3 separate regions of the Homo sapiens genome follow, and regions 1 and 2 are each linked to region 3. Evidence: promoter capture Hi-C in human tissues and cell types (Jung and others, 2019). All regions are on one chromosome and are shown on one strand. Each heading gives the region's core, a stretch centred on a gene start or on the middle of the fragment in contact. The rest is flanking DNA. Distances are from core to core; before and after follow the strand shown.

What was found. The method cuts DNA at HindIII sites, captures the fragments that hold promoters and counts their contacts. A contact is called where the count stands out against the background at its distance.
Region 1: a contact is called between the fragment with the promoter of HTR3D here and the fragment with the promoter of EIF2B5 in region 3, in 2 of the 25 tissues and cell types used here (IMR-90 fibroblasts and neural progenitor cells).
Region 2: a contact is called between a fragment that was not itself captured here and the fragment with the promoter of EIF2B5 in region 3, in 5 of the 25 tissues and cell types used here (H1 embryonic stem cells, IMR-90 fibroblasts, bladder and 2 more).

Annotation. Positions count from the first base shown.
Region 1 is chr3:184,029,185-184,033,361 of GRCh38, forward strand. HTR3D (5-hydroxytryptamine receptor 3D) reads left to right here and starts at 2,558. Exons shown (of 8, transcript NM_001145143.1): 1 at 2,558-2,623. The coding sequence starts at 2,558. The HindIII fragment of the contact is 22,402 bases long and covers 1-4,177 here.
Region 2 is chr3:184,059,903-184,064,059 of GRCh38, forward strand. HTR3C (5-hydroxytryptamine receptor 3C) reads left to right here. Exons shown (of 9, transcript NM_130770.3): 8 at 1-141; 9 at 248-771. The coding sequence ends at 450. Among named protein-coding and RNA genes, the nearest start is that of HTR3C, 8.9 kb to the left of the region's middle. The HindIII fragment of the contact is 8,084 bases long and covers 1-4,157 here.
Region 3 is chr3:184,133,722-184,137,265 of GRCh38, forward strand. It overlaps EIF2B5 (eukaryotic translation initiation factor 2B subunit epsilon), which reads left to right and starts at 1,637. Exons shown (of 16, transcript NM_003907.3): 1 at 1,637-1,859; 2 at 2,891-3,015. The coding sequence starts at 1,665. EIF2B5-DT (EIF2B5 divergent transcript) reads right to left here and starts at 1,540. Exons shown (of 2, transcript NR_183721.1): 1 at 815-1,540; 2 at 1-557. RefSeq lists enhancers at 26-667, 1,537-1,596, 1,917-1,986 and a silencer at 1,737-1,846. The HindIII fragment of the contact is 14,690 bases long and covers 1-3,544 here.

The DNA.
Region 1 (4,177 bases), core at 1,308-3,807, 100 kb before region 3:
TGGTGGGCGCCTGTAGTCCCAGCTACTTGGGAGGCTGAGGCAGGAGAATGGCGTGAACCCGGGAGGCGGAGCTTGCAGTGAGCAGAGATCTCGCCACTGCACTCCACCCTGGGCGACAGAGCAAGGCTCCATCTCAAAAAAAAAAAAAAGTTAAAAAAAGAATCACAAAAGAAATTCTTAACATTGAAAGCCAAAGTCAAACACCTACAGAGGCCAACCAGGTAACATAAATGAGGAGAGCTGCTCAGGAATAAGACAGGAGGGGTGATGGAGACTGTGGTGATCTAGAGTGAGTATGAACCATCCAAAGGGTTTCACTACTTCTGAGCTTTGGCAGATTGTTGTCAAGCAGAAACGTGAGCCTCATGTTGCTAGATCTTATTTTTCAAATGAAGCCAGAAACAGTTTTTATGTGAAATCTCAATGTTTAAGTGTTACACAACTAACTTTAAAAAAAGAAAAAAAAAACACTAGCAGGGCCAAAAATAACATAAACTTTCAGGCTAATAGCTCATGACCTTTTCTTTAAAATCATAAGTCAGCAGCTGGGCGTGGTGGCTCATGCATGTAATCCCAGCACTTTGGGAGGCCAAGGCAGGCAGATCACCTAAGTTTGGGAGTTTGAGACCAGCCTGACCAACATGGAGAAACCCCATCTCTACTAAAACAAAACACAAAAAATACAAAAAAATTAGCTGGGCGTCAGCCATCCCATTACTGGGTATATACCCAAAGGATTATAAATCATGCTGCTATAAAGACACATGCACATGTATGTTTATTGCAGCATTATTCACAATAGCAAAGACTTGGAACTAACCCAAATGTCCATCAATGATAGACTGGATTAAGAAAATGTGGCACATATATATCATGGAATACTATGCAGCCATAAAAAAGGATGAGTTCATGTCCTTTGTAGGGACATGGATGAAGCTGGAAACCATCATTCTGAGAAAACGAGCGAGGACAGAAAACCAAACACTGCATGTTCCCACTCATAGGTGGGAATTGAACAATGAGAACACTTGGACACAGGGTGGGGAACATTACACACTGGGGCCTGTCATGGGGTGGGGGGAGCGGGGAGGGATAGCAATAGGAGATATACCTAATGTAAATGACGAGTTAATGGGTGCAGCACACCAACATGGCACATGTATACATATGTAACAAACCTGCACGTTGTGCACATGTACCCTAGAACTTAAAGTATAATAAAAAAATGAAAAAAAAATTATCTGGGCTTTGTGGTGCATGCCTGTAATTCCAGCTACTCGGGAGGCTGAGGCAGGATAATCGCTTGAACCCGGGAGGCAGAGGTTGTGGTGGGCCAAGATCGCGCCATTGCACTCCAGCCTGGGCAGCAAGAGAGAAACTCCATTTAAAAAAAAAAATCATAAGTCAGCTTTTATTTTAAAAAAGTATTACCTCTGCCACCACCCCCTACTCCACTAATCACTCCCTTCATTGGGTAGACCTGGGTCCAGATTGCTTTTGAAACACTAAAAAGGCATAGCAAATCAGCTTTGAGAAGAGGAAGCAGAAATATGTCATCACTGGAGCAGTGCTAATGGCTTCCTCATACTTTAAAGTCTTAACTATACTGAAGTCATGTTTAAAACCTCAGTGTATGAAGTTGCTTATATTAATAGGGACCCCCCTCCCCCCAACACGCTTTCTTTTTTGAAAGATGGCAGTAGGGGGCCGGGCATGGTAGCTCACGCTTGTAATTCCAGCACTTTGGGAGCCAAGGTGGGCAGATCACCTGAGGTCAGGAGTTTGAGGCCAGCCAACCAACATGGTAAAACCTCGTCTCTACTAAAAATACAAAAACTTAGCCAGGCATGGTGGCAGGCGCCTGTAATCACAGCTACTTGGGAGGCTGAGGCAGGAGAATCGATTGAACCCGGGAGGCGGAGGTTGCAGTGAGCCAAGACTGCACCATTGCACTCCAGCCTGGGAGACAGAGGGAGACTCCGTCGCAAAAAAAAAAAAGGAAGGGAGGGAGGGAGGGAGAAAGAGAGAGAGAGGGAGGGAGGGAGAGAGAGAGAGAGAGAGAGAGAAGGAAAGAAAGAAAAAAGAAAGAAAAAGAGAAAGAGAAAGAAAGAGAAAGAAAGAAAAAGAAAGAGAAAAGAAAGAAAGAAAGAAGAAAGGAAAAGAAAAGAAAGAAAGATGACAGCAGGGTCTAACAAGTTCACGTGCCACCTGGAGGCAGTGGTAGTCATCCATGCCTTCTCGGTGAGGCACTGTACGCCAGAGTGACTTTAAAGTATGAGGAAGCCATTAGCACTGCTCCAGGGACCACATATTTTTGCTTCCTCTTCTCCAAACTGATTTGCCATATTACTTTTGGAGGCTAGATTCAGGCCCAGTTAAAGCACAGGGTGAGTTATTCCTCTGTGACATTCTTTTGTCACCAAGGGGTCTTGTTAGAGAGGCGGTTAATGCCAGCTGATATATATATTATTCAAAGGTAGGGCTCAAGGTGTGATCTGAGGTTTTTTAAAGGTTAACATCATCATCAAGTACCCAGAGAAGTGCCAAAGAGAGGAAGATGGAAAGAGGCTGGTTCCATGGGAAAGGATTCCTCCTTGGCTTCATCCTCCACCTGCTGCTGCAAGTACCTTAAGATAAGAGCAAGAGCTGAGCAGACATGTAACTCCTGGGAAGCAGAGAAAACAGGCTAATATTTTTTATTCTGAGATAGTCAATGATTGGATGTTCGTTATGGTAAAAATGATGCTCGTGACACTGATGGCTTTGTACCTCTTCCTAGGATCCTAATATTTAGTTAACTCTTTTCTCTTCTTTTTTTTTTTTTTTTTGAGATGGAGTCTCGCTCTGTTACCCAGGCTAGAGTGCAGTGGCAATATCTCAGCCCATTGCAACCTTCACCTCCCAGGTTCAAACGATCTCATGCCTCAGCCTCCCAAGTAGCTGGGATTACAGGCACCTGCCACCGTGCCTGGCTAATTTTTGTATTTTTAGTAGAGATGGGGTTTCACCATGTTGGCCAGGCTGGTCTTGAATGCCTGTCCTCAGGTGATCTGCCCGCGTGGGCCTCCCAAAGTGTTGGGATTACAGGCGTGAGCCCCTGAGCCCAGCCTGGGAACTCTTTAAGATAATCCTAGTGATGAAGACTACTAAATGTTAGAACAATCACAGCACATAGTAAAGACACAGTAAATACTCATCAAATTGAAAAACTGAAATTGATTTGTTTCCTTAAGATCCCATATATCTCACACTACCTATCTGATTACTCCCCTTATCATTAATTTATTAGCATCTATGCCATATTAATACAGCGAGGCGGAGAACTGTGAGTGCAAAATTTGTCACTGACATCACCCACATGGCTCCAGGTTGGAGGTAAGCAAGAGAAGGACACTGGCAGAAGGTGGAGAGGTTGCAGTGAGATTGTTAAGGACATGGCAGGACACTGTAAAGTGGCGGTCGGGGTTGAGTTTGCATACACATCTGGACAGGTTTTGCATGGGGACAAAACAATGGCACTGAGGATGGATCCTTGACTCAGCTCACCTCATCAGTTTCCACCATTTGCCTACCAGCTCAGCCTACTCTTCCTGGACCAGGAAGGAGGAGCTCACATGCTTCTCCCAGTGCCCCCTGTTTTCTCTCCATGCAGAAACACTCTCCAGGCCCCCCAGCCCTGGCCCTCCTCTCTCAGTCTCTGCTCACTACAGGAAATGGCGACACTTTGATTATCAATTGCCCAGGCTTTGGCCAGCACAGGGTGGACCCTGCAGCCTTTCAAGCAGTGTTTGACAGAAAGGCTATTGGTCCAGTCACCAACTACAGTGTCGCCACTCATGTCAACATCTCCTTCACCTTGTCTGCCATCTGGAAGTTGTAAGTCCTCACCCAACATTGCAGTGGTCTAGTGGTGAGCAGTGGACCCTCTGACTGGATTTTTTTTTTTTTTTTTTGAGATGGAGTCTTGCTCTTGTCACCCAGGCTGGAGTGCAGTGGTGCAATCTCAGCTCACTGCAACCTCTGCCTCCCAGTTTCAAGCGATTCTCCTGCCTCAGCCTCCGGCACGTGCTGCCCCACCCAGCTAATTTTTGTATTTTTAGTAGAGACAGGGTTTCACCATGTTGGCCAGGCTGGTCTCAAATTCCTGACCTCAGGTGATCCACCTGCCTTGGTCTCC
Region 2 (4,157 bases), core at 518-3,017, 74 kb before region 3:
ACGTGGCCACCACCCAGCCCCCACCCATGCCTAGGTGGCTTCACTCCCTGCTGCTCCACTGCACCAGCCCAGGGAGATGCTGTCCCACTGCGCCCCAGAAGGGAAATAAGGGCCTGGGTCTCACCCTCACCCACCTGCCTGGTGAGGGAAGCCAGCACTGTCCATACTCGCCCTTCACACTGGGCCCAGCACTCCTCTAATCCTGTCCCCTTCCCACTCCATGACTGAGCCTCTGTCCTCTCCACAGGCCCAAAGGAGCCGGGGGAGTTAGCAGGGAAGAAGCTGGGACCCAGAGAGACCGAGCCAGATGGGGGCTCAGGATGGACAAAGACCCAGCTAATGGAGCTGTGGGTGCAGTTCAGCCACGCGATGGACACCCTGCTCTTCCGCCTCTACCTGCTCTTCATGGCCTCCTCCATCCTTACTGTCATTGTCCTCTGGAACACCTAGGCAGACATCCCCCCTCTCTGGCAAACAACAGCTTGGAGTTTCTGCTGGTCTTGGGCCAGCCGGACTCATTTTCCTAATCTTAGCCACTTATCCCCAGTGACTACCATGTCCCCTTCTAAATTCCAAAGACTCCAACGCAGCACTAGCAAGCAGGTTCGGGACAGCCCTGGACGATTTCCCGACCGCTGCTCAGGCTGCTCATTCCTGCTCACCCTCAGTCTCCCTGAGCTACCACCTAACTCCTCACTCCCTGATCAATGGAAGTCCAGGTCAGTGGAGTCTCTCCTTGATTGATCACCCCAATAAACAACTTTCCAGGAAGCACTGGCTCTTCAGTTTGTTTGTTTGTTTGTTTGTTTGTTTGTTTATTGAGACAGAGTCTCACTCTGTCACCCACACTAGAGTGCAAATGATGCCATCTCAGCTCACTGCAACCTCCGCCTCCCAGGCATGATTCTCATGCCTCAGCTTCCCAAGTAGCTGGGATTACAGGTGCACACCACCACACCCAGGTAATTTTTGTATTTTTAGTAGAGACAGGGTTTTGCCATGTTGGCCAGGCTGGTCTGGAACTCCTGACCTTAAGTGTTCCGCCCACCTCGGCCTCCCAAAGTGTTGGGATTACAAGCGTGAGCCACCTCGCCCAGCCCTCTTCATTATATTTATTATAAGTCTACAAACTCTGCGGTGGAGAGTCCTCTTGCAGAAGCTTTGATACTTCCCCCTAAGCAGGTGTAATCTGATGTGATTTTAAGGGTTTTAGATACTTTCAGAGTTTTATAAGAATAAGAAGGCCAAGTCTTATTTGCAAGAAATTATTTCATTTGCAATAAAATATTTACAAATGCAAAATGTTCCTTTCAGCAACCATTTCTTTTTCACTTTCCTTTACCTCTCATTCCTGAAATTGCTCTTTGAAATAAATCATATCTTGTGTCATTCTTTTTTATTCTAACAGGTTTCTCTTACTTCACAACATCAAACAGAGCGGGCTTTCTAAATATGTGTGCTTGAGGCTGGGGGGTTCATGCCTGTAATCCCAGCACTTTGGGAGGCCGAGGAGAGAGGCTAGGAGTTTGAGACCAGCCTGGGCAACAAAGCGAGACCTTGTCTCTACAAAAATAATAATTAACTAATTAATTAATTAAAAATTAGCCAGGTGCAGTGGTACATGCCTGTAGTCCTAGCTACTCGAGGGACTAAGGTAGGAGGATCGCTTGAACCCAGTTCAAAGTTACAGGGAGCCACGATCGCACCCTTGCAATCCAGCTTGGGCAACAGAGCAAGAACCAGTCTCTTAAAAATAAAATGAAACGAAGAAAGGTTTTTTAAGTTCCCTGTTAATAGTAGTTCACAGCAGGGCTCGGTAGCTCACACCTGTAATCTTAGCACTTTGGGAGCCCAAGGTGGATGGATTGCAAGGTCAGGAGTTCGAGACCAGCCTGGCCAATATGGTGAAACCCCATCTCTACTAAAAATACAAAAGCTAGCTGGGCATGGTGGTGTGCACCCGTAGTCCCAGCTACTCGGGAGGCCGAGGCAGAAGAATTGATTGAACCTGGGAGGCAGAAGTTGCAGTGAGCCGAGATTGTGCCACTGCACTCCAGCCTGGGTGATAGAGCAAGACTCTGTCTCAAAAATAATAATAATAATATAGTAGTTCACACCTTCATCAACAGCTATAATCATGGGAGAATTCTAATAGCTAGCTGCAAGAAAGACCCTGAGGAGAAACAGAAATTGAAAGAGAAAGTCAAAAAACACCAGCGACAAATTTCTGGATGATATTTCAATTGGATAAACACATTTCAGGGATTTATTTGTTGGCCCTTCTGCCTCCCCTAAGAGTATGCTTTCATAAAGATCAGGGTCAACGTCTCATCCATTTTTATAGTTTAGCACATGGTACCACATCTGGCACATCGTGGATACTTAACACAGACTTGGGGGTTTTTTTTTGTTTTTTTTCTTTCCAACTTTTAGGTTCAAGGGGTACATGTGCAGGTTTGTTACCTGGGTAAATTACATATCGCAGGGGTTTGGTGTACAGATAATATTGTCATCCAGGTAATCAGCTTAATACCCGACAGGTTAGGGTTTTTTTTGTTGTTGTTGAGATGGAGTTTTGCTCTTGTTGCCCAGGCTGGGGTGCAATGGTGCGATCTTGGCTCATGGCAAATTTCGCCTCCCAGGCTCAAGCTATTCTCCTGCCTCAGCCTCCCAAGTAGCTGGGATTACAGGCATGTGCCACCACGCCCAGCTAATTTTGTATTTTTAGTAGAGATGTGGTTTCTCCATGTTGGTCAGGCTGGTCTCAAACTCCTGACCTCAAGTGATCCACCTGCCTCAGCCTCCCAAAGTGTTGGGATTACAGGCCTGAGCCACTGCACCTAGCAGTACTAGGTTTTCTGTTCCTATGTTAATTGTCTTAAGATAAGGCCTCCAGCTCCAACCATGTTTCTGCAAAGGCCATTATCTCCTTTTTTATGGCTGTGTAGTATTCCATGTGCATATGAACCATATTTTCTTTATCCAGTCCACCACTGATGTGCTTCTAGGTTGATTCCATGTCTGCTATTGTGAATAGTCCTAAAATGAACATACATTTGCATGTGTCTTTATGGTAGAATGGTTTACATTCATTTGAGTATATAATCTATAATAGAATTGCTGGGTCAAATGGTAGCTCTATTTTAAGTTCTTTGAGAAATCTCCACACTGCTTTCCACAGTGGCTGAACTAATTTACATTCCCATCAGCAGCATATACATGTTCTCTTTCCTCCACAACCTCTCCAGCATCTGTTATTTTTTCAACTTTTAAATAACAGCCAATCTGACGGGTGTGAGATGGTATATCATTGTGGTTTGGATTTGCATTTCCCTAATGATTAATGATATTGGGCTTTTTCTCATATGCTTCTTGGCCATGCATATTTCTTCTTTTGAGAAATGAATACGGCATTGTTGAATGAGTAAATGTGTGAATGAATGCCAGCCAGCCAAAATCCACATTTTACTAGCTCTAGCTGTAAATCCCTTCCCAATATATTTTCTTTTCTTTTCTTTATGGAATGTGGACAATTAGCAACACATCTTCATGTGTCAACTATCTCTGAGTTCTTGGAGATGTTACTTATATCCTGGCAAAGGCAGTTCTGATATCAGATTCTCTTGTTTCCTTCTCCTTTCCATTACTTGGAACATATCTCCCACTCAGAAACTCAATTGGTTTTTCCCAATAACTTAAAATGAAGAATATCTGTTAAGCCTTTGAGGAATTTCAAATTTCTTAAGATCAGTTTTGTATCATTTCTTTTTCCTTCCCCATTTCCATGTTTATATTTCTCTAGATGTCATCTTGCGATTTTTTCATACATATGCAACTTTAGGTTTTCTGTGCTAAGACTTTTGTTTGACAATGCCCTTTGCAAAAGAACATTCTGCTGATATGTTCAGGTGGAAGTGCGATTTGTGGGGTAAAACATGACCTGACAATGAAGCAAAATATATTAAACTACTACTAGCCAACATAGGTCAGCAGGAACGTTACAGGTGTTTCACAGTTTGGGAGGGAGTGGTTCTGGTTTCTGATACCTCTCATTTTAAGAAAGAGAAAAGGACGGATGTGGTGGCTCATGCGTGTAATCCCAAAACTTTGGAAGGCCTCAGTGGGAGGATTGCTTCAGCCCAGAAGTTTGAGATCAG
Region 3 (3,544 bases), core at 387-2,886:
TAAAATCATATCCATATAGCTACCAGTCTACAGAATTTTAAGACCTGGATTTACCATAAGCACAAATGCCTTTCGGCAGCGGATTCACCACTTCCCAACTTCCCAAGGTTGCGGGAATCATTTAAAATAAATTCTGCAATCGGACCTACTTTCCATACCCAAACACCCCCCCAAGAGTGTGTGTGTGTGTGTGTTTGTGTGTGTGTGTGTGTGTCCTATTTAATTCCTTCTCCCCTCCCCCATTTCTACCTCTGGATTTGTAGGGCAGTTGAACATTCCTTTTCTACAACGTGCATTCATTTAATGGAAAACTTTTACTTAGTTGGCTTCAGCCTTTCCTTTTCTAGGATAAATCAAATGGTTTTCGTTCCGCACCCTAACGAGGCAAGAAATGACAAACTCCTCGGTCCCCCTAGGCGGGCGCCGGAGCACGACGGGTCAAGTCGGAATCGCCACGTGGAAACAGCTCTCAGCATCGCGAACTCCAAATCCCGACGTGCAACGCGGGGCGGGATGGGAACAGTTTGCAGGAACTGCAGAAGCCTGTGGCGTGGAACCTGGACAGGTCCCGTGCAGAAAGGGCGCTATGCCTTACAGAAAAGTTCCTTGCCTCCCAAATGACGCCCAGCCTTCCTGCCCCGTTCCACCGCTTTCCCACGGCCCCGCCCCTCTACAGAGTTGGTTTATTCCCCGCAGCCACCGCTTCTTTCCCCAAAGAGAAAAAGGTGCTGCTGCGCCTTTTCAAGCCTTGGACCTTTACGCCCGCACTTTCCTCTGCCCAGAAAGCTTACTGCTTAACTCCAGTACAACTTACTGGTGCGCCTGGATCCACCCCCGTCTCCACTCTGCTTAAGACACAGGAGGCTGATAGGCTGGAAGAATGAATAGATGACATAAAATAGTCATTGTTATCCCCACATAACTTGGCAGCAAGATTGTGGAACTCTGCAGTCAGACAGATCGGGTTCCAATACCAGTTCTTCCACTTACTAGCTGGGTAAACTTCCTTCATCCTTCTGAGAGTTCAAGAAACGTTTGCTGAACGAATGAATAAGATGTTTTGCAGAGATAATGCTTGTATCGTGCCTGGCCCAAAATCAGCGCTCAATGGAATTACTGGTCTCCCTACTATATGCCTGCCACCTTCTCTATTTATGCAGGTTCTGAGTTCCTCGCAGCGGGGGAACATCTGGCTCGGTTCTATCTCCCCAAGGCGCTGGGTTCCCAGAAGTTTCTAGAATGAATACGGAGGGCTACATATTTCACATGCGCGGGGCGGGGAAACTGCTGGGCGATTACAGATTCCCGATGGAGCTGGCCCCTTCGTGGCGACCACAAGTCCTATCACGCCACAAGAATCTCGGCTTGTTCACCTACAAATGAAGGCCGACGATACTTGCAGACCGAGTCTGACATCTATGGGACCCCACTCCTACCCTGCGCCTCAGGGGCCGGGACAACCGTGACCCGTACCGACTCCTCGCGCCTCCGGGATCAACCTCAGACCCCTGTGGGCTCCCGGGGAAGACGCATGCGCACTGCTCCCTCCTCGTCTCCTTCCCTTCGTTAATTAGTCCATCGCATTTCAAGTGCTGGATCCTTTTTGTCCCCTACTGCGTGCGGTGGCAGCTTCCTTGCGGAAGTGGTGACCGTGAGAGAAGAAGATGGCGGCCCCTGTAGTGGCGCCGCCTGGTGTGGTGGTTAGTCGGGCTAACAAGCGCAGCGGCGCGGGGCCGGGAGGCAGCGGTGGCGGGGGAGCCAGAGGGGCGGAGGAGGAACCGCCGCCGCCCCTACAAGCAGTTCTGGTGGCCGATAGCTTCGATCGCCGCTTCTTCCCCATCTCCAAGGACCAGCCTCGGGTGAGCGCCGCGCACGCGAGCAGCCAGAGGGCAGGAAGGGTGGCAGGGCTGGAGCAAGTTCTCATTTCGGCTAACTACAACAGCATGCCCTTGAAGGACCTGCGTCTATGCTGTTATCCTAAAACCGGATGCAGAGGGACTGTCTAAACCCTGATGACTGCTGACCAAGTTAGTGGCCGGCAGATTTGGGCATTCGTAATGCTGTCCACCTCGGGTTTGAAAGGAATGAAGAGAGCTAAATGTAGAAACAGCGCTTGAGAGAAGCCTTCACGCGGGGATTCAGTGCCCCTAGAAGAGGCTGCGCCGCTTTTAACCTTGCCGATGACGGTTGCTTAGGTGAAAAGAAACGACCTTTTGCCTCTGAAAGGGCGGTAATATGCCTTAAAAAGAGCGGGCTAGATCTCAGGCAGTGTATTTTTTTTTTCCTTCCAGGTTCTAATGATAGCCGGTGCTATCTGTCGAAAGGACAAAATGGGTTTAGTGGTTGATTGCCATCAGCCCCCGAGTTGTCTAGACAATGGGGTATTGGACTCAGCTGGGTCGTTCAGCAGTCAGTTCAGAAAGAGGGAACTGCATTGGATTTAAGGAAAATCCTCTCTAATTCCCTCGAAAAAGCCTAATGGCTGTTCATTTTTGACAAGTGACGGGAGATGGCTAACCTCTGACACTTAGAAAGGGATCAAGGAAGGAAATCTTATGGGGAAGAAGGCCTTAGCAATGCTTAAATTTATGGAAATATGATTGATTTCCAGTATTATCCTTTGCCAGCAGTGAACTGCCATTCTGTCACAGCTCTGTGTCTGATACAAGGCACATAGATTCTGTACTTACCATCCCCAAATTGCAATGTCTCAGACTCAGGCTTAGAGCATGGCATGAACATCAAAGGCAGGAACCTGTTTATCTTTGAATTGGAAAGATACAGCAAAATTACACTGTTTGGAAATACGAATAGAGGAGTGAAAATTGTTGCAGTGGGGTACCCAAAGGGATTCGAGACCTCAAGTTTTTTTTCATCTTGTATCCTTCAGGTCCTCTTGCCCCTGGCCAATGTGGCATTAATTGACTACACTCTGGAATTCCTGACTGCCACAGGTGTACAGGAAACATTTGTCTTTTGTTGCTGGAAAGCTGCTCAAATCAAAGAACATTTACTGTAAGGCCCTGCAACTTTTCTTTCCATGTTTCGCCATCTTTTTCCAGTTTTTTCAGGATGAATGTAACTAAGGGGAAATGTGAGAGGGGAAAAATGTGTCTACTTAGATGTCATTGTAAGTTCTAAGGGTATTTTCTACACTTATCAGGAGGTGAGCAGCTGAAACTTTGTATCTGTCTGTCTTGGGTTTTCTGTGACAAAGATTAAAGAATAAACTTGGGTTTTTTCTGAATCTCATTATAAAGTTTGGTGCCAGTGGACTTTGCTTTTATTTAATGGCTTCAGTATGGAAGTTACAATGATAACATCTTTGTTTTCCCACTGAGTTTCTAAATCTTGTTTGTTCTCACCTTCAAGGATATAAATGAGCTCCTTGTCATCTTTGTATTCCCACTGCCTAGCTCAGTCCCAAGCATATAGTGAGCACTTACATGTTTGTTGAAATCTTGAAAACTAGGGAATCGCATTGCTTATGGAAGTCCAGGATGTAAAGACTAGGACATTAGCATGGTCTCCATCAGACAGTTCC